Regions from separate parts of the Homo sapiens genome. Here all the other regions are linked to region 1. Evidence: promoter capture Hi-C in 16 types of primary human blood cells and fetal thymus (Javierre and others, 2016). All regions are on one chromosome and are shown on one strand. The core of a region is centred on a gene start or on the middle of the fragment in contact, and the rest is flanking DNA. Distances in the headings are between cores, read along the strand shown.

Region 1 (2,903 bases), core at 233-2,732:
GAGACGCAGTCTTGCTCTGTCGCCAGGTTGCAAACTCCACCTCCCAGGTTCAAGCAATACCCCTGCCTCCCTGCCTCAGCCTCCCGAGTAGCTGGGACTACAGGCACGCACCACCACCCCCAGCTAATTTTTGTATTTTTAGTCGAGAAGGGGTTTCACCACATTGGCCAGGATGATCTCGATCTCTTGACCTCGTGATCCACCCGCCTCAGCCTCCCAAAGTGCTGGGATTACAGGCGTGAGCCACCACTCCCGGCCAATTGTGGTTTTATATCTGTCATTTATTTCTCCACTTAGTTCATCTAGATCAGATGATTATTACTTCCATGTTTTCTATCAGTTCCTAAAAAAAAAAAAAACGTGAAATAGGACCGTGCCAGGGAAGGAAGCTTAAGGGACACTACTAAACACCTCTTCCATGCCTGTCACTGAGCCAGTCAATATTATTAACTATGTTATGCATGCATGTTATTTCCAAGCCTACAGATTGCTTTCACACATTAGCGTGTTCATCCATAGTGAATGTGGCCAGCGGAAATCTATATGGGCAGTAACATTCTTTCCTGAAGTCAAGATATACCACGTCTAGTAATGCTCTCCTGAATAAGTTATTTATTGAGTATCGACATCACAATCTACGTCTTTTCTCTTTGTTTATTGGATCACAGTGAATATAAAACTATACCTATAGTTACGATTATACAAAAGAATCTTAAGTCAGTGGTCATGGGTAAGACAGTAAACCAATTTATCTGCTTTCAGAGCTTTTAAGAAGTCAAAGTGCAAAAATGACAGTTTTGTGCAAAAAGAATTTTCAACGAGCCTGACAGCCAAAATATACCTGAAGTCGCTGCGAGACTTTACTTGGATTTTCATGAGATCGTTTGTGTGTGAGCACGCTCGTGTTTTTCCCAGAGCAGGTGTAATGATGGGTCTTTACTTACTCTCCCCACTCCCCACCCCCTTCGCACACTCTTTCACCTTGGGAAGGGTATGGGAATGAAGAAAGGAGTGTTAATCGGGTTCCCAGCGTTCCCTTATCTTTCACCTAGCTCCCTAACTACTGTGGATGTTAGGTTTGGGCACACCCATTTCAAGACAAGGAGACTGGTTCTCGAGGGAAGTGTGAGACTGAAGTTACAGAGCCTGTCAAAAGCGGAGCCTTATAGAGGGAGTAAAATCCCACGTGCTTCGTGCTGCAGCAGCTGGAGGGTGGACCTGGGTCGACCTGGGGGGATGCTCAGCCCTGCGGGTCCGGGAGCGCGCAGAACAGCGGGGAGGGCTTCTCCCTCTTCTGGGTAGGGGCGCGCTAGGTGGAGCCCCACCTCCCCTCCGCGGAGACCCACCCTCCGAGCCGGGAGAGGCGTTGCGGGGGGGTGGGGGGGGCGTGTCCCCTGGCGCAGCGCGGCCAGCGCGCACGCGCAGCGGGCGGAAGGTGCCCGGGCCCACTTTGAGCGCGCGGCTGCGCACTGAGCCGCCGGCCCTCCCGGAAGCGCAGAGCTCCGCTGGTGCCACGTCTATCCCCTTACATCCTCCTAGGACCCGGTCGGTAGTCGTCGCCCCAGCCCGCCGGGGGCGCAGCGCCCGAGCCGCGGCCCTCGAGACGGGACCGAGAGCATCATGGGCAGCACTGTCCCGCGCTCCGCCTCCGTGCTGCTTCTGCTGCTGCTCCTGCGCCGGGCCGAGCAGCCCTGCGGGGCCGAGCTCACCTTCGAGCTGCCGGACAACGCCAAGCAGTGCTTCCACGAGGAGGTGGAGCAGGGCGTGAAGTTCTCCCTGGATTACCAGGTGAGGCCGGGCGCCCGGCAGCGCTCCCTTCTCCCTCCACTCCCAGGTCTCACCTGGACACTGGCTAGCCCCTGACTGGAGGCGCTCGAATTAGCCACAGGCTACAGGGAGGCTGCATGGGGTGGGAGTCCCCGGAGACCAGTTGACTTCCCCGTGAGGAGGAAGGTTTGGGTCATCAGGGCCCACCCGAGACGAGCCTGGCCAGCGAGGAGGTAGTCAGCGCCGCAGGTGCGAGCCCGGGATGGGGACGCCAGGGCGGATCCCGCAGCCTGGGGAGCTGGCCAAAGAGATATCCGCAGGCCCCCGAGACACTAACCAACGGCAGTTCTGATCGGCTGGACACAGGCTCTCTAACCCCAGTCTCTTAGACCACCTTGTGCCTTCGAGTACTGAAAAATGGCAGCAAGAGGAAGTGGGCTCATAGTTTTAGTTTATTCCTCCCCTCTCCAGCGTTTAAAGTTGGAGTGAGGTGAGGGCAGCAGAAGTGAGAATGGGCACTTTGGAAAGGAGGGATCAGTGCAGCCATTGAGGCCTGGCGGTGTTTACAAGGAGCGGTGTGGCTGCAAGACTTGGCTCTTGCCATATGGCTTAGAAAAGCTCAGTTCCTGTATTCCTGTCTCCTTTGAGAGATCCCGTGGCCCACAGGTGACAGGAGCAGGTCTTGAGTGAGTAGTCTGCCCCGATATTTAGTGAGCAGGTCTAGGGTTGGGGGCCAAGTGGGCATCATACTCAGACAGCTATCTGCTTGTGGACGCATGCTGATAGGCACTTCAGAAATGAGGGGCCACGGGCAGCAGGAATGGGGGCAAGCTATTTGACCAGTTCCTCTGTGGTTAGAGGCACTGAAGGAAGCTTGCGCTTGGAGACAACTTCTATGTGGTAGTCTCAGTCACTGATTTGTCCACTTTCAGGTCTTTGTGGACAACATGCAAATTGTGACTGGGTTAACATGGGCAACCTAGGTGCAATGACAAAAAGAATGATAATTCTGTGGTTGCAGGGACCTCAGATGTCATCTGGTCACTGCCAGGGCGGAAATCCCTTGTCAAAGTGTGTCCAGCCTGGGTTTAAACACACTTAGCAACAGGATACTCACTGCTTTTTGCAAAGCTTGC
Region 2 (2,903 bases), core at 404-2,903, 870 kb after region 1:
GGAGGATCGCTTGAGCCCAGGAGGTCGAGGCTGCAGTGAGCCATGATCACACCACTGCATTCCAGCATGCGTGACAGAGCAAGACCCTATTTCAAAAAATAAAAATTAAAAAAAGTGCATATTATACATGTACAGCTTGAAGAATTTTCCTAAAATGAACATCCCTGTGCAACCAGCACCCAGATCAGAAATGGAAAATTTCCAGCACCTCAGCAGCCCCGTGGGGCCCTCCAGGTCACTTCATCACTCCCTCCAGCAAAGGTCACTCCTCTCCTGACCTCTGCTACCATGTATTATTTTTTTTCTGTTTTTCAGTTTTATAGAAATGGCATCATAAAGTAGCATGTATTCTTTTGTAGCTGGCATCTTTGTTTTAGTGTTAGATCTGTGAGATTCAACCCTGTTGCTCTTTGCAGTGACAGCTCATTTTTCTCATTGCCTTATAGTGTTGCACTGTATAAATATTCCACAACTGACTTAATTTTTTTTTTTTTTTGAGATGGAGTCTCGCTCGTTGCCCAGGCTGGAGTGCAGTGGCGCGATCTCGGCTCACTGCAAACTCCGCCTCCTGGGTTCATGCCATTCTCCTGCCTCAGCCTCCCGGGTAGCTGGGACTACAGGTGCCCGCCACCACGCCCGGCTAATTTTTTTTTTTGTATTTTTAGTGGAGATGGGGTTTCACCATGTTAGCCAGGATGGTCTCGATCTCCTGACCTTGTGATCCGCCCGCCTCAGCCTCCCAAAGTGCTGGGATTACAGGCATGAGCCACTGCGCCCGGCCAACTGACTTATTTTGTAAGTCACATCAATTCCACAATCGATGGACATTTGGTTGTTTCCGTTGTTTTTGGCTATCACAGAGTTACTGTGAACATTTTAGTACACACCTTTTGGTGCACATATGTGCACATTTCTATTGAGTGTATATCCAGTAATAGGCTTGCTGGGTCATAGAGTACACATAGACTCAGCCTAGGGGTACTTCCAAACAGTTTTTTGAAGTGGTTATACCAGTATATACTCCCACTAGCAGCATGTAAGCATTTTGCCTGCTCCACATCCTCGTCAGCTCTGGTGGTGTTTGCCTTTTCGTTCAAACCGTGCCTGGGATTGTGACTTCAGTTTGCATTTCCCTAATGACTAATGCAGCTGGGCATGTTAGTCATATGTTTATGGTTCATTTGTTTCTTGGCCTTTTGAATATCCTCTGAATCATTGAACTATTTCTAGTTTCCCTAATTTCCCTTCTAATTTAATATTATTCTGGGCTCCTTAGGGCTAGTAAGAAGAAATTAAGGGGCCTCCTTGCAGGGGCTCGTGGGCAAGAATCCATCTTTTGGGTTTCCTATGCCGGGATGTGTGGCTGTAGGAATGGCAATGTGAGAAGCTGTGGCCTGGGACAGGCATGGGCGTGCATTGCATCTGAGCGTCTCGGTGGGCACGTGGTGCCTTGGCCCCCTCTGCCCACAGCCTGACCGCCCACAGCTCTCCCTCGCTCCTTGGCCTGCCCTGACATCGTGTTTGAATCGTTCAGCTCCATTGCCCAGTGTCCATCCCAAGGCCCGGCATGGGAGAATGGGAGCGAGGGCTTTGCTCACGAGAAGCCTCTGCTGTGGTGTGGACTTAGATTCTCCCAATACGGGACTGGAGGGTGTTCCCAGGGCAGAGTGGAGTGTTGTACACAAGGGCATGTTGCAGGCTGAGGGACTGAGCAGTAAGGTCAGCCCTTAGGGGATGCTGCTTGGAGAAGGTGGTCAGTGTGGGCTTGAGGTAGCAGAGGAGCTGAGGTTGGAGTTTGTGAAGGAGATGGAAGAGCTTGGGGGAGGTCTCTGGGCAGCTCCCCAGGAGGACAATGTGTCCTTACTATAAGGGACTGGAGAGAGCTGGCTGGGGGAGCTGGGGACCGGGGAAAGGCCAGGGAAGGCGGTCGTGAGCAGGGCAGGCTGTGCCCAGCTGCCTCCGGGATGCTAGGCTAAGCCTGCCGCTGCTCATTCCACCTCGCGTCCATTGCCTGCAGTACATGTACTGGACGATGCTGCAGCAGCTCACTCACCACTCTGTCAACGGCTGCAACCTGCGGCCGGGGGACCTCCTGGCTTCTGGGACCATCAGCGGGCCGGTGAGTATCTGGCTGCACTGAGGGCTGCCCACGCAGAGCATCCCTGCTCCCCACACAGCCCCAAGGGCCCTCAGCTCAGCCTCGAGAAGAGATTTCAGGCCCGAGGTGGGTGTATCTCACAACTCTGTCTTCCTCGTAGCCTTTCTCTCTGGGTGCAGGAGGGACTTCTCATCCAAATTCAAACCTAAAGAGACTGGTGTGAGAACGGAAGCCTGGGTCTCTGCCTCTGTAGGGGAGCAGCGCAGTGACACGTGGGGAGGAGTCAGGAGACAGTGATAGTGTCTTGGTTGTCACCATCTCACACTACACCCTCCCAGGATGAGGTGGCCATGCTGCTGTGCCCCTTCCCACCCGCTTGTCCCCCTGTAAGCCTGCGGGAGTCACAGAACCTTCAGAGATGATGACCTTGGGGTGGTGCATGTGTCACTCACTTCCTGCAGGGGGCTGGCCGAGCCCTCTTGTTCCTTGAGCTGTCGACAGGAGGGTGTTAAGCATCACGATATCTGGGCAAACTGCAGCCTCCAGAGCAGGGAGGGGATGCTGCAGGGGGCACTGGGCACTCTGGTCAGGGATTCACTGATTCCTAAACAAGCGATGTCCTTAGTGGAACCATTGCTGTCCCCACAGGAAGAAGGGGCAGAGTTCCATGTCTCAAAGGCATCTCTGCAGTGATCCCACCAAGGCCGAGGCAGGGTCTCTGAGGGGCATGAGGGCCCCCTGCCACTTCTCGGGACTCCCAGGTCTTGCTGAGCATGGTCCATGCCAGAGCCAAGGCATAAATTCA
Region 3 (2,903 bases), core at 152-2,651, 850 kb after region 1:
GTCTAGCAAAGATGTGCACACACATAACTGGAGCACCAGTGGGAAGCGAAGCCTGCCCCAGAAGGATTCAGGGGAGGGGATTTGGAGGGGGAAGAGATCCTGCTAGAGAGAGCAGGGAGGGCTTCAGGGAGGAGCGGGCCTCAAAGAGTTGCCAGGATTTGAATACACAGGGACAAGGGAGAAGTCAATCAGTATAGGCGTGGTGAGGGAGCCTGTGGGAACTCGGGAATGGCAGTTGTGTGTGGGAAAAGTGGGGAGCCTGAGAAGGGAGGTGGTATCAGCCACTTGGTGTTCACATTCCACTGTCAGTTTCAGAAAGTCTGGACTCCTGATTTCTTATTTGTTTCTCAGCTGAGGGCTCTAAAAACAAATCTTCAGTGAGGATATTTTATATTGCATTTGGTGCTGCCATTGCTGGCTGCAGGCTGAGCTCTGGATGTGTAAACAGTATTGTGTGCACACTCGTGGCTCCAGTGCTTGGAACAGTCCATTCTTCCTGAGGCATGTGGGTTGCTGATGGGATCTGTTGGGTCTTTCCTCTGCAGGAGACTACACAGACTTCTATTCCTCTCGGCAGCATGCTACCAACGTCGGAATCATGTTCAGGGACAAGGAGAATGCGTTGATGCCAAATTGGTATGAACTGGGCCAAATGTCTGCATAAGTTCAAAGTCTTTCTTTTCATTTCCAGCAGCATATTTGTCTCAGGAGCTGCCAAGTTCTTCTTAAAGTAAACTGGGGAGGAAAAGCAGTTATGATGTTGCAACCTCTGGAAGCAGTGGTCTCAGCTTCTGGTCTCCTGCTCAGCTTGGCTTAGGACTTGCTGTGGGATCGAAGGGCAAGTCCCTTAAACTTCCTTGGACAGCAGGGGTTGGAATTAGATTCCCTTAATCCCTATGCTCCTTCTGGAGTCTTTCATTTATAAGCTGTGTATTATTGTACTATGGGCAAGTCTTAGACTCTAGCATGCTCCATACTTACATTTTCTGATGAATGAGAATCCTCAAATGTGCCCAGTGCTGTATATTCCTCAACATGTGATCGGTTTCATTCATTTGTTTGATCCTCGTAGTAGTTCTCTGATGTCACAAGGCCATGATTGTAAGCCCCATTTTACAGACAGGAAAATGGGCTCAGAGAAGGATCAACTTGCCTGAGCACAACAGGGCCACAGCCTGTCTCCCAGCCCCCAGATCAGGCCATTGACCAAGCTGAGGATGCAGAGCTGGGATCCTTGCCCTTTGTTCTGTGTTGTCCCCTGGATGTGATGGTTCCTTGGAACTGAAGAGGGCCTGGACTCAGTGGCAGGCATACACTCCAGGCCCCAGTGCCATCAGTCACACACAGGAGCTGGGTTAGGGACGGGGCTTTACTCTCTCTCGAGTGAGTGTCTCCAGTAGGCTATGCCATGAGGGGAGGGTCTGTTAGAACCAAGATGAGGAAGAAAGAAAGGGAGAGAGAGCAGTTCCAAGCCAGAGATGTTGAACAACAAGGCCAAGGTTGCAGAATGAGGCAGGGGTGAATCTGAGACCAGAACCCAGGCTCCAGGTTCCAGGCTTCCACGTGAGATGCGCAAATATTTGAGAATCTTGCACTGTACAGGCTCCAGGCTGTATTTGTCCCCAGCCAGCTTCAACTTGTCTATCTGATGGGCTGAGTGTCTATATGAGTGTCCTTGGCAGTGATGACCCAGTGGACTGCCCAGCCCCAGAAGAGCTGGCTGTCACCTGTGTGCCAGGATCCCAGTGGCCAAAGGGCAGGGGCACCAGGAAGTGAGAGGAGAGCCGGGACCTGGGAAATGAGTGTTGACTGTGTCTGAAACCGAGTGTGGGGGCCGCAGCCATCCTTGCCCCATGTCCTTCTGCAGAATAAGAGTAAACAGGCCTTCTCTAGCCATGTTTGATGCAAGATGGCCCACAGCTGTGACTTTTTAGCTTTATGTACATAGTCTTTATTATAAAGGTAACATATATTTACTGGAATTAACCCAAACACTACAGAAAATATGTAAACATTTACAATTAAAAATGTGTCTACTCTTTGACCTGCAATGCTCACTTTCATGCATCTATCCTACAGAAATAAAAGCACCAGTGGGTTGTATCCAAGAGCAAGGATGTTAATTAGCAGAGTTTCTAGTGGCCCAGAACTGGAAGTAATCTGAATGCTTATCGGTGGAGGAATGGTTGAAAAATTGGTCTATTCACAATATGAAATGTTTTGCAGCTAGTGAAAGATTTAGATCAAGAAAGATGTGCACTGATCTGTGTTAAGTGAAATAGGTAAACTATAGGCAATTAGGTAAAGTGTGTCTCACTTTTATAAAAAAAGCACAAAAAATATATATGTACATACACACTGTATTAGTTTTCTGTTGCTGCTGTAACAAATTACCACAAACTTGGTGGCTTAAAACACAAATATATTCTCTTCTAGTTCCGGAGGCCAGAAGTCAAAAATCAGTCTCACTGGCTAAAGTCAAGGTGTCAGCAGGGCTGGTTCCTTCTGGAGGCTCTAGGAGAGAACCCATTTCTTTGACTTTTCAGCTTTAGAGGTTGCCTGTATCCCTTGCCTTTTGACCCCTTCCTCATATCACTCCAACCACTTGCTTCTGCTGTTACATTTCCTACTTCCTCCTTTGACCTTGCCTCTGTCTATAAGGACCCTTGTGATTACATTTAGGGTTCACTCAAATAACCAGGGACAGTATCCCTATCTCAAGATCCCTAACTTAATCACACCTGCAAAACTCTTTTTGCCATGTAATAATATCCACAGGCTCCAGGGATTAGGATCTGGATATCTTTTGGAGGGCTATTTTTCAGCTTAACACACACACACACACACGCATGTACACATGCACACACACACACTTATGCATACATTAGTTCCATAGGCCGGTA
Region 4 (2,903 bases), core at 217-2,716, 830 kb after region 1:
GAATATATCAGAGAGCCCAGAAATAAACCAATACAAATATAGTCAACTGATCTTTGACAAAGAAGAGAAGACAATTCATGGAGAAAGTCTTTTTCATAGGAATACTTTTTCAAGCAGTAGTGATCAGCTGTACATTTACATGCAAAAAAAGTCAATCTAGACACCTTGAACCTTTCACAAAAGTTAACTCAAAATTTATCATAGACATAAATGTAAAACACAAAAATGTAAAACTTAGAATATAAGAAATTCAAGGTTTGGTTTCGATTTTTCTAAGTAAAACACTAAAAGCATAACTTGGGAAAGAAAAATTATTGATGACTTGGACTCTGTTAAAGTTAAAAACTGCTCTGCAGAAGCTGCTGTTAAGAAAATTAAAAGACAAGCCACAGACTTGGAAAAAATTAGCAAAACACATAAAGGGCTTTCATTTAACATATACAAAAAACTCTTAAAAGCTTAATTGTATGAAAACAGTCCAACCTAAAAATGGGCAAAATATCTGAATAGATATCAAAGAAGATACACTGATAGCAATTAAAAAAAAAAAAGCCTGCAGCCTCAGCTACTCAGGAGGCTGAGGTAGGAGAGTCACTTGAGGCCAGGAGTTTGAGTTTGGTCTGGGCAACATAGTGAGACCCCATTTCTAAAAATTTTTTTTAATGATTTAATAAAGTATACTTGGTTAAAAAGCAAAAGTGTCCACACAAAAACTTGCACACTGACATTTTAGCAGCTTTATCCTTAATTGCCAAAAATTGGGAGCAACCAAGATGTCCTTCAATAGGTGAACAAACAAACTGTGGAACATTTATACAGTGAAACAGTATTCAACAAAAATAGAAAGGAACTTTCAGGGCAGGAAAAGACATAGAAGAATCTTAATGCATATCGCTAAGTGAAAGAACCCAATCTTAAAAGCTACATACTATATGATTCCAATTATATGACATTCTGGAAAAGTCAAGACTACAGAGACAGTAAAGAGATAAGTGGCTGCCAGCGGTCCAGGGGATGAATAGAAGTAGCAGAAGGGATTTTTGGAAATTAAGAAAACAATCTCATTTACAATAGCTACCAAAAAACCCCCAACCAAACAAAACACTTGGGAATAAATTTAACCAAGGAGGTGAAGGACCTGTACACTGATAACTAGAAAACATCAATGAAAGAAATTGAAGAAAACAGAAATAAATGAAAAGATATGGCCAGGCGCGGTGGCTCAAGCCTGTAATTCCAGCACTTTGGGAGGCCGAGGCAGACAGATCACCTGAGTTGGGAGTTCGAAACCACCCTGCCAACATGGAGAAACCCTGTCTCTACTAAAAATACAAAATTAGCCAGGCGTGGTGGCGCATGCCTGTAATCCCAGCTACTCTGGAGGCTGAGGCAGGAGAATCGCTTGAACCTGGGAGGTGGAGGTTGCGGTGAGCAAAGATCGCGCCACTGCACTCCAGCTTGGACAGACAACAAGAGCGAAACTCCGTCTCAAAAAAAAAAAAAACAACATAAAAGATATCCCATGTTCATAGATTGGAAGACTTAATATTGTTAAAATGTCCATACTACCCAAAGCAATCTACAAATTCAATGGAATCCCTGTCAAAATTGTAACGATATTTTTCACAGAAACAAACAAACAAATCCTAAAACATGTATGGAACTGCAAAAGACGCTGAATAGCTAAAGCACTCTTGAGCAAAAAGAACAAAGCTGGAGGCATCACACTATCTGACTTCAACATCTACTACAAAGCAGCCAGATGTGGTGGCTCATGCCTGTAATTCCAGCACTTCGGGAGGCTGAGGCAGGAGGATCACTTGAGCCCAGGAGTTTGAGACCAGCCTACACAACATAGCTAGACTCCATCTCTACATTTTTTTTTTAAATATTGGCCAGGCATGGTGGCAGATGCCTATAGTCCCAGCTATGCAGAAGACTAAGGTGGGAGGATCACTTGAGCCACTGGGAGGTTGAGGCTGCAGTGAGCCGTGATCATATCACTGAATTCCAGCCAGAGAACAGAGCAAAACCCTGTCTCTAAAGCAAAGCAAAACAAAACAAAATGAATCTACTATATAGCTATAGTAATCAAAACAACATGGTGCTGGCATAATAACAGACATATTGAACAGAATAGAGAGCCCAGGAATAAATCCACAGATTTACAGCCAGTTGATTTTTCACAAAAGTGCTGAGAATACGTGATGGGGAAAGGACAGTCTCTTCAATAAATGATGTTGGGAAAATTGGATATCCACATGTGGAAGAATGAAATTAGACCCTTATCTCACACCATATATAAAAATCAACTCAAAATGGATTAAAAACGTAAACTTAAGAAATGAAACTGTAAAACTAGAAGAAAATGGGAAAAGCTCCATGTCATTGGTCTGGGCAATGATTTTTTGGATATGAACCCAAAAGCACAGGCAACAAAAGCAAATACAGACAGATGCGATTATATCAGGCTAAAAAGCTTCTGTATAGCCAAGGAAACAATCGACAAGAAAAAACCTAGGAAGTGGGAGAAAACATTTGCAAACCACACATCTGATATGGAATTAGAATCTAAAATAAATAATGAAGTCAAACAACTCAATAGCAAGAAAACAAGTAACCTAATTCTTAAAAAATGAGTAATGGATATGAATAGACATTTCCCAAAAGACATAAAAATGGCCAACAGGTATGTGAAAAAATGCTCAACATCATTATCAGAAAAATGCAAAATAAAACCACGATGAGATATCATCTCACACCTGTTAGAATGGCTATTATCAAAAAAACAAAAGACAGCAAGTATTGCAGAGGCTGTGGAAAACAGGGAACCCTTGTACTTTGTTGGTGGGAATGTAAATTAGTACCGCCATTATGGACAACATAGGGGTTCCTCAAAAAAT
Region 5 (2,903 bases), core at 217-2,716, 770 kb after region 1:
ATTCTGGATATGCCAACCAAAATTTTGCTGGTTTAGCAGGTGCCATTTAATTTCTCATTTTTCCAGTAAGCCCAGGTGGGGAAGAGGTATGGAGTATACATAGGATATGGGAATGGTGTGACTGTGAGCAGTGGTGAATTATGAAGGCTTCTATGCAAATAAGTGGTAAAAACAGGGTTTGGAATATTAATTTAATTGCAACTCATATTGGACACTATCAGACACATTAACTTTAAGTTCTCACAATATCATGAGATGGGTATTATTGTTGTGCCTATTTCGCAGATGATAATGCTAAGTTTATAGAGAGATAGGAAAAATTGACAAAGGTTAAACAGGTTTATAGACAGATAGGACAAATTGACAAAGGTTATGTGGCAGAGCCTAGATTGAAATTGGGAAGGCTGATACCAGAGCATGATCTTGCTATTCAGGTTTACTTAGAGAGGGAAGGTTTACTTAGGGAGAGGAATTCAAGGCAGGGAGACTACCAGTTGTTGTTTTTGAAGTTCTGTGGTAATGTGAGTAATTTTACTAATGTTCCTAAACCTTTGGGTTTGGTATCTCAATATCACTGTCAAGTGACTTTCTGGGAAAGGTAGGAAAGATTGACAGATGGATATAGCAGGGATTATTCATTCTTATTTTAGTGAGTGTCAAAGGATGGAAACTGGTAAGAGTTCCAGATATTTAAGGAGTTTATTATGAGGATTGGACCATGCTTCCCTCCTTGTTTTGCTGAGTTTATATCTTCTGGTTCTTTGATTTCCTATGAACTAAAAATCAGAATTCCATCTTAGAAATTTATTATTCAATTGAACTGCCCTCACCTCCCTTAATTTTCTTTTATAAAGTTTTCTCTGAGGTGGATATGGGATAGAAAAAATGATGGTGGACTGAGCACCTACTATGTATCCTATACATATATACATATGTTATTTTATTTATTTATTTATTTTGAAATGGAGTCTCACTCTGTCGCCCAGGCTGGAGTGCAGTGGCGCGATCTTGGCTCACTGCAAGCTCCGCCTCCTGGGTTCACGCCATTCTCCTGCCTCAGCCTCCCGAGTAGCTGGGACTACAGGCACCTGCCACCACGCCTGGCTAATTTTTGTATTTTTTAGTAGAGACGGGGTTTCACCGTGTTAGCTGGGATGGTCTCAATCTCCTGACCTCGTGATCCGCCCGCTTCGGCCTCCCAAAGTGCTGGGATTACAAGCATGAGCCACCGCACCTGGCCTATACATACGTTATTTTAAACCTCCCAGCCCTGTGAATTGGTGGTGGTATTATCCATAATAATAAATTCTGCACAGGTTTCTTAAGCAACTACTGGGTGCTATGCTAAGAACTTATGATATGTTGGGGAAACATGCAGAGAATTTATATTAAATGATAATGAGGGAGAAAAGAGACCAGATTATCATTGGAGCAGAGTCAGAGAAGACTGTAAAGTGGCTGTGCTAAGACTTAGAAAATAAATAAAAGTTAACCAGAGTGAGTGAAAGGGATGTTAGGTAAGCCTTGTAACTTTAGAGAAAAGCGTGTTCATGGAGATGATTAAGCATGGAAGTTAGGCTGGGCACAGTGGCTCATGCCTGTAATCCCAGCACTTCAGGAAGCCAATGTCAGGAGTTTGAGACTAGCCTGGCCAACGTGGTGAAACCGTGTATCTACTAAAAATATAAAAATCAGCTGGGCATGGTGGTGAGCATCTGTAATCCCAGCTACTCAGGAGGCTGAGGAGGTTGCGGTGAGCTCAGATCATGCCATTGCACTCCAGCCTGGGCAACAGAGCGAAATTCCTTCTCAAAAGCATGGAAGTTGAGAGCTTTAGGGCCCAGGAGGAAAAATGGCAGGAGAATGAGGCTTCATAGACAAGATGAGCTAAACCTATTCTCTTAGTGATGGAAAACCTTTGAATTACTGATTTGGGGCGTGGTCTGATCACCCTGAGAGGATTTAAATATCCTCTTAGGCAGTAAAGTGGCATGGGTTCAAGATTGTGCAGCTAAGAAGAAACAGCTCAGATCTGAATCCAGGCCTTGTCTCAGTATTATAGCACTCTGCTTCTTATGAAGTCTGTTTAAGCCTAGATCAGGGTTAGGCATGATTACAGCACACACATAGTTGCTGCAAATCAGTTCAGAGAGGCAAGAGATTAAGTGAGATTTACGAAGTGTAGGTCGATCATCCCAAATTCGAAATTTGAAATACTCCAAGATTGGAAATTTTCTGAGTGCAGACACGATGCTGAAAGAAAATGTTCATTGGAGCATTTCAGATTTTGGATTTTCAGATTAGGGATGCTCAACTGTTAAGTATATAATGCAAATATTCCAAAATACAAAAAAATTTGAAATCTGAAACTCTTCTGGTCCCAGACATTTTGGAAAAAGGATATACTTCCTAATAACTGAGGCCTAACTGGCCAAGAAGTGGGAGGGAGGAGGGCCTAAACCAGATGTAATGGCATAAAAGGGTTAGATGAGGAGTATTGATTTAATTACTAATTTACGTGGGGGCAGTGTGTCAGAAATGACCAAGGCGTTAAGCCGGGTTGGCAGAGAGATGATAGTTTCCTTGAAAACAATACTAAGTTAGGCAAAGCTATTTCTTGGAGCAAGTTCCTGAGCTATGTTGAATTTTGAGATTTAGGATTTTCTCTTCAAGTCATTGAAGGTTTTTGCTTTTACTAACCTGCAGATTTGACTCTGTATTAGACTCTGAGGATACAGAGATAAATAATACATGCTGTCCCAGCATCTGAGGACCAGGTGAGTGTCATCCTGCATCATCAAGCCTCAGAATGTCTCCTAAGCTGCAGTCTGAACCTAATTAAGAATTTTTAAGTCGGTTAATCCTGCCATGCCCCCTTGGTTCCTATACCAAATACAGTTCAC
Region 6 (2,903 bases), core at 218-2,717, 750 kb after region 1:
ACCTCAGACCAGCAAAGTCCACTAGAAATACAACGTTAGTCACAAATGGGAGCTACATTAAGTAATTTAAAATTTTCTGGTAGCCACATTATGAAAAAAAGAGAAACTGGTGAAAATACGTTTTATGTAACCCAAAAACTATTATTTCAACATGTAATCAGTATAAGAAATTGTTGATGGGATAGTTGTCTTTTTTTAGACTGTCTTTATAATTTGGTGTGTATTTTCCACTTAAAGTACATCTCAATTCAGACTAGCTACATTTCTTTTTTTGTATTTTTTTTGAGACAGAGTCTTGCTCTGTCTCCCAGGCTGGAGTGCAACGGTGCGATCTCAGCTCACCGCAACCTCTGTCTCCTAGGTTGAAGTGATTCTTGTTCCTCAGCCTCCCGAGTAGCTGAGACTACAGACATGCACCACCACGCCCAGCTAATTTTTTTTTTTTTTTTTGAGACGGAATCTTACTCTGTTATACAGGCTAGAGTGCAGTGGCACAATCTCGGCTCACAGCAACCTGGGTTCAAGCGATTCTCCTGCCTCAGCCTCTCCCCAGTAGCTGGGACTACAGGTGCATGCCACTACACCCAGCTAATTTTTGTATTTTTAGTAGAGAGGGGGTTTCAGCATGTTGGCCAGCCTGGTCTCAAACTCCTGACCTCAGGTGATCCACCTGCCTAGGCCTCCCAAAATGCTAGGGTTACAGGTGTGAGCCACTGCACCCGGCCTAAATTTTTATGTTTTTAGTAGAGACCGCGTTTCACCATGTTGGCCAGGCTGGTCTTGAACTCCTGGCCTCAAATGATCTGCCTGCCTTGGCCTCCCAAAGTGCTGGGATTACAGGCGTGAGCCACCATGTCTGACCCAGACTGGCCACATTTCAAGTGCTCGGTAGCCACATATGACTAGTGGTTACCCACATGGACAGTTCCATCTTATAAAAGTACTATAACCTAGTTATCTGTTGGGTGTAACTTAAGTTTATTATTTTTTTCTTATTATTATAAGTAGTGTGATAAATATAAGAGCTACTACTATGTATTTGTCATTGTTTCTTTCGGATCTAGTCTGTCTTACAATCACTGAATCAAAGCATATGAACATTTCTTAAAGTCTTTTCATAAATATTGCCAAATTTTGTCCTTAAAAGTTTGACTAACATCAAACTTTAATATCAAATTTGACTAAAAATATGACAGAATACACATTTCTTGTATATCTTTACCAGCATTATCTGTCTATCCATCTACCCTCCATCTTTCCTTCCCTTTCTATAGGAATCATCATATATTTCTTTAATTAATTATGATGGTAAATAAACCTGGATATTGGACATCTTCTAGTTTATCTTTTGCCCATTTTGGCTGGTGTTTTATATTTGTGATACCCTTTTAAACTTTTTATATTTTTAGGATTTAGGATAGCAACTCTGCTATATACTGCAAATATACATATACACACAAATATATATACACATGTATACATACACACACACACACACACACACGTATGTTTGGGTTTTTTAAAATGTTTTTTGAGACACGGTCTTGCTCTATCACCCAGGATAGAGGGCAGTGGTGCAGTCATGGTTCACTGAGGCCTCTACTTCCTGGGCTGAAGTGATTATCCCGCCTCAGCCTCCTGTGTAACTGGGATTACAGGCGTTCCCCACCATGCCTGGCAATTTTTTGTGGAGATGGGGTTTTACCATGTTGCCCAGAATGGTTTCAAACTCCTGGGCTCAAGCAATTTACCTGCCTTGGCCTCCCTAAGTGCTGGGATTACAGGTATGAGCCACTGGGCCTGGCATGCAAATATTTTTCCTGGCTCTTCATTTACCTAACAGTGTTGTCTTTTCTCTTGCTCTCTCTCTCTCCCCCTTTTTTTTTTTTTTTTTTTTAACAAAACAAAAAAACAGGCAAGGGTTTTTACTTTTTAAGAAAATTAGGTTAATACTTTCTTTTATGGCTTCTACTTTGCTTTTATATTTAAAGGCTTCTCCTACCCAGTTAAGTTTTCTTCTAGTTCTTTTACGGTTTCATATTTCACATCTGTCTTTTTCTGTTCATCTGGGATTTATTTTGACATATGTGAAGTGAAATAACCTCCCTTATTTTTCCTTAAAAATTTTGGCCCCACTAAAAAAAAAAACAACTTGTTGCCTTGAAATAAAGCTGCCTTTATCATATGTTAAATGCACATCTTCTTGGTTCTTTTTAGGTTTTATTGAAATATCAATGATTTGGTACCAGTGTACACTTGTATACATGGGGCATGGTATTTTCATTTTGTAAACAAGTGTGTTTCTGTTATTGTTTAAGTCTCCCCCCCATCCCCCTTTTTTGGTTGTTGCTTTGTTAGTCCTCAGATTTTTTAGTTTATTCTTTTGGGGCTTCAAATTAGTTTTGGTTTTGATTTTTTTTTTTTTTTTTTTTTTTTTGGAGACAGAGTCTTACTCTGTTGCCCAGGCTGGAGTGTGATGGCATGATCTTGGCTCACTGCAGCCTTTGTCTCCAGGTTCAAGTGATTCTCATGCCTCAGCCTTCTGAGTAGTTGGGATTACAGGGGTGTGCCACCACACCTGGCTAATTTTTGTGTTTTTAGTAGAGATAGGGTTTCATCGTGTTGGCCAAGCTGGTCTCGAACCCCTGACCTCAGGTGATCTACCCACCTCGGCCTCCCAAAGTGCTGGGATTACAGGCGTGACCCACTGTGCCTGGCCAGTTTTGAATTTTTTAACTTAAAAAAATTGCAACTTTTATAATATTTTATGTTTTATAATGAAAAAATGTAATCCTATTGAATGTTCCTCTGAGCATAGCTTTAGCTATATTACTTAAATTTTGATGAGTAATATTTTTATGTTTATATATTTAAAAACCCCTGCAGTTGCAGTTTTTATTTTT
Region 7 (2,903 bases), core at 203-2,702, 690 kb after region 1:
AGACTGGGCTGGGCACGGTGGCTCATGCCTGTAATCCCAGCACTTTGGGAGGCCAAGGTGGGCAGATCACTTGAAGTCAAGAGTTCGAGGCCAGCTTGGCCAACATGGTGAAACCCCATCTCTACTAAAAATGCAAAAAATAGCTGGGTGTGGTGGTGGGCACCTATAATCCCAGCTACTCAGGAGGCTGAGACAGGAAAATTGCTTGAACCCAGAAGGCGGAGGTTACAGTGAGCCAAGATTGCACCACCGCACTCCAGCCTGGGCAACAGAGCAAGACTCCGTCTCAAAAAAAAAAAAAAAAAAAGAACGAACTATTGATCTATTGATACAAGCAACACAGATAGATGTCAACATATTATGCTAAGTTTAAAAAGCCTTATAAAAAGGTAAATACTGTGTAAATACTGTATAATTCCATTTATATGAAAGTATAAAACAGACAAAACTAATCTATGGTGGAAAAAAAATCAGAGGAGTGCATATCTCTGAGGAGCAAAGGTGAAGATTGACTGTAAAGAATGTAAGAGGAGGCTGGGAACAGTGGCTCTCGCCTGTAATCCTGGCACTTTGGGAGGCCAAAGCAGGCAGATCACCTGAGGTCAGGAGTTCGAGACCAGCCTGGCTAACATGGCGAAATCCCGTTTCCACTAAAAATGCAAAAAAAAAGGCCTGACGTGGTAGTGCACACCTGTAGTTCCAGCTACTCAGGAGGCTGCGGCAGGAGAATCACTTGAACCCGGGAGGCGGAGGTTGCAGTGAGCTGAGATTGCACCATTGCACTCCAGCCCGGCAACAGAGCGAGACTCCATCTCAAAAATAAAAATAAAGGCCAGGTGCGGTGGCTCACACCTGTAATCCCAGCACTTTGGGAGGCTGAGGCGGGTGGATCACAAGGTCAGGAGTTCAAGACCAGCCTGGCCAATATGGTGAAACCCCATCTCTACTAAAAATACAAAAATTCGCCGGGCATGGTGGTGGGTGCCTGTAATCCCAGCTACTCAGGAGGCTGAGGTAGGAGAATCACTTGAACCCAGGAGGCGGAGGTTGCAATGAGCCAAGATCGTGCCACTGCATTCCAGCCTGGGCAACAGAGTGAGACTCCATTTCAATAAGTAAATAAATAAATAATTTTAAAAGAATATAAGAGGACTTTCTGGGTGATAGCAATATCCTATATCTTGGAAGAGGTTTGGGTTACACATGCATTAGTCAAAATTGAACTAATGTACACACATGAGGCGAATCTCATCTGCAGTTAATTGACTGTAAATTTTACAACAAAATTAAAAACCATAAGCAAATATTGAATTCTAGTTAATAATATGCATGCTGACTACCTGGGTGAAGTATACTGATATCTGTGATTTACTTTAAAATTAACCAAAATCAGGCCAGACACAGTGTCTCATGCCCGTAATCCCATTGTTTTGGAGGCCTAGGTGGTAGGATCACTTGAGCCTAGGATTTTGAGGCTGTCATGAACTATGATCATGCCCCGGCACTCCAGCCTGGGCAACAGAGCGAGACTCTGTCTCAAAAAACAAAACAAAATAAAAAATTTAAGTTGGCCAAAATTAAATGAATTAGGCCAGGTGCAGTGGCTCACGCCTGTAATCACAACACTGAGATGCCAAGGAGGGAGGATCACCTGAGGTCAGGAGTTTGAGACCAGCCTGGCCAACACGGTGAAACTCCATCACTACTAAAAATACAAAAATCACCTGGGCATGGTGGCACATGCCTGTAGTCCTAGCAACTCAGGAGGCTGAGGCAGGAGAATCACTTGAACCTTGGAGGCAGAGGTTGCAGTGAGCTGAGATCATGCCATTGCACTCCAGCCTGGGCCACAGGGCAAGACTCTGTCTCAAAAAAAATTAAACAAAATAAAAAAGTGAAATAAACTAAAATGAATTAATCAAGGGATAGAGGGATGAAAAGATCTGTAGTTATATGATAAAGCTAGTAGAGTAAAATATTAACGGTAGACTAGCTGATGGGCATATATGGCTCTAAAACAGAAAAAAACTAAGGTGAAAAATAAATCTGAACAGTGGTTGCTGAGGTCAGGGAAGATTGCCTGGGAGAGGACTTGAGGGAACTTTCTGGGTGATGGCAGTGCTCTCCATCTTGGTATGGCTCTGTTTAATGCAAGGATATCTATTTGTAAATTTTGAGGCTAAGATTTATGCAGTTCAATGCATGTACATTTTGCCAAGAATAACGAACTATAAGAAAATAATAATAGAGTAGAGGTGAGGGGAGGTATAGATAAAACAAGAATAGCAGAGGCCAGGCGTGGTGGCTCACACCTGTAATCCCAGCACTTTGGGAGGCCTAGGCGGGCGGATCACCTGAGGTTGGGAGTTCGAGACCAGTTTGAGAAACCCCATGTCTATTAAAAATACAAAATTAGCTGGGCGTGGTGGCACATGCCTGTAATCTCAGCTACTCAGGAGGCTGAGGCAAGAGAATCACTTCAACCCGGGAGGCGGAGGTTGCAGTGAGCCAAGATCGCGCCATTGCACCCCAGCCTGGGCAATGAGAGTAAAACTCCGTCTCAAAATTAAAAAAAAAAAGAATAGCAGAATGTTGAGTTTTATTAAGACTGGATGATGTATGGGTGAGAGTTTATTACATTATTATCTTTATTTTGTATATATTGAAATTATTTCTCCAATAAGATGCCTTTCCAAAGAATGTGATTTACAATAGCATCAAAAATATCAAATATATAGCAATAATCTAATAAAAGATATGCAAAAGCTCTCTGTAGAAAACTATTAAATATTATTGAGAGAAATTAAAGAAAACTCACATAAATGGAGATATATAATGTGTTTATAGATTGGAAGACTCTATATTTTAACAATATCTATTCAATGTAATCTCAATAGAAATCC

What was found. The method cuts DNA at HindIII sites, captures the fragments that hold promoters and counts their contacts. A CHiCAGO score of 5 or more calls a contact.
Region 2: a fragment that was not itself captured here is called in contact with the fragment with the promoter of TMED3 in region 1 in 1 of 17 cell types (naive CD8 T cells); the score reaches 5.7 in naive CD8 T cells.
Region 3: a contact is called between a fragment that was not itself captured here and the fragment with the promoter of TMED3 in region 1, in 1 of 17 cell types (naive CD8 T cells). The highest score is 5.6, in naive CD8 T cells.
Region 4: a fragment that was not itself captured here is called in contact with the fragment with the promoter of TMED3 in region 1 in 1 of 17 cell types (fetal thymus); the score reaches 5.0 in fetal thymus.
Region 5: a fragment that was not itself captured here is called in contact with the fragment with the promoter of TMED3 in region 1 in 1 of 17 cell types (naive CD4 T cells); the score reaches 5.2 in naive CD4 T cells.
Region 6: a fragment that was not itself captured here is called in contact with the fragment with the promoter of TMED3 in region 1 in 1 of 17 cell types (fetal thymus); the score reaches 5.7 in fetal thymus.
Region 7: a contact is called between a fragment that was not itself captured here and the fragment with the promoter of TMED3 in region 1, in 1 of 17 cell types (naive CD4 T cells). The highest score is 5.1, in naive CD4 T cells.

What each region holds. Positions count from the first base shown.
Region 1 is chr15:79,309,630-79,312,532 of GRCh38, forward strand. It overlaps TMED3 (transmembrane p24 trafficking protein 3), which reads left to right and starts at 1,483. Exons shown (of 3, transcript NM_007364.4): 1 at 1,483-1,788. The coding sequence starts at 1,621. RefSeq lists silencers at 1,327-1,376, 1,587-1,656. The HindIII fragment of the contact is 2,251 bases long and covers 388-2,638 here.
Region 2 is chr15:80,178,107-80,181,009 of GRCh38, forward strand. FAH (fumarylacetoacetate hydrolase) reads left to right here. Exons shown (of 14, transcript NM_000137.4): 12 at 2,018-2,119. Among named protein-coding and RNA genes, the nearest start is that of FAH, 27 kb to the left of the region's middle. The HindIII fragment of the contact is 4,346 bases long and covers 1-2,903 here.
Region 3 is chr15:80,161,701-80,164,603 of GRCh38, forward strand. It overlaps FAH (fumarylacetoacetate hydrolase), which reads left to right. Exons shown (of 14, transcript NM_000137.4): 5 at 546-636. Among named protein-coding and RNA genes, the nearest start is that of FAH, 10 kb to the left of the region's middle. The HindIII fragment of the contact is 7,230 bases long and covers 1-2,903 here.
Region 4 is chr15:80,144,089-80,146,991 of GRCh38, forward strand. No RefSeq gene overlaps it. Among named protein-coding and RNA genes, the nearest start is that of FAH, 7.5 kb to the right of the region's middle. The HindIII fragment of the contact is 2,021 bases long and covers 457-2,477 here.
Region 5 is chr15:80,082,051-80,084,953 of GRCh38, forward strand. The region is part of intron 1 of ZFAND6 (zinc finger AN1-type containing 6); the gene reads left to right. Among named protein-coding and RNA genes, the nearest start is that of ZFAND6, 24 kb to the left of the region's middle. The HindIII fragment of the contact is 3,047 bases long and covers 1-2,903 here.
Region 6 is chr15:80,063,126-80,066,028 of GRCh38, forward strand. All of the region lies in intron 1 of ZFAND6 (zinc finger AN1-type containing 6), which reads left to right. Among named protein-coding and RNA genes, the nearest start is that of ZFAND6, 4.9 kb to the left of the region's middle. The HindIII fragment of the contact is 4,753 bases long and covers 1-2,903 here.
Region 7 is chr15:79,996,688-79,999,590 of GRCh38, forward strand. No RefSeq gene overlaps it. Among named protein-coding and RNA genes, the nearest start is that of BCL2A1, 27 kb to the left of the region's middle. The HindIII fragment of the contact is 6,034 bases long and covers 1-2,903 here.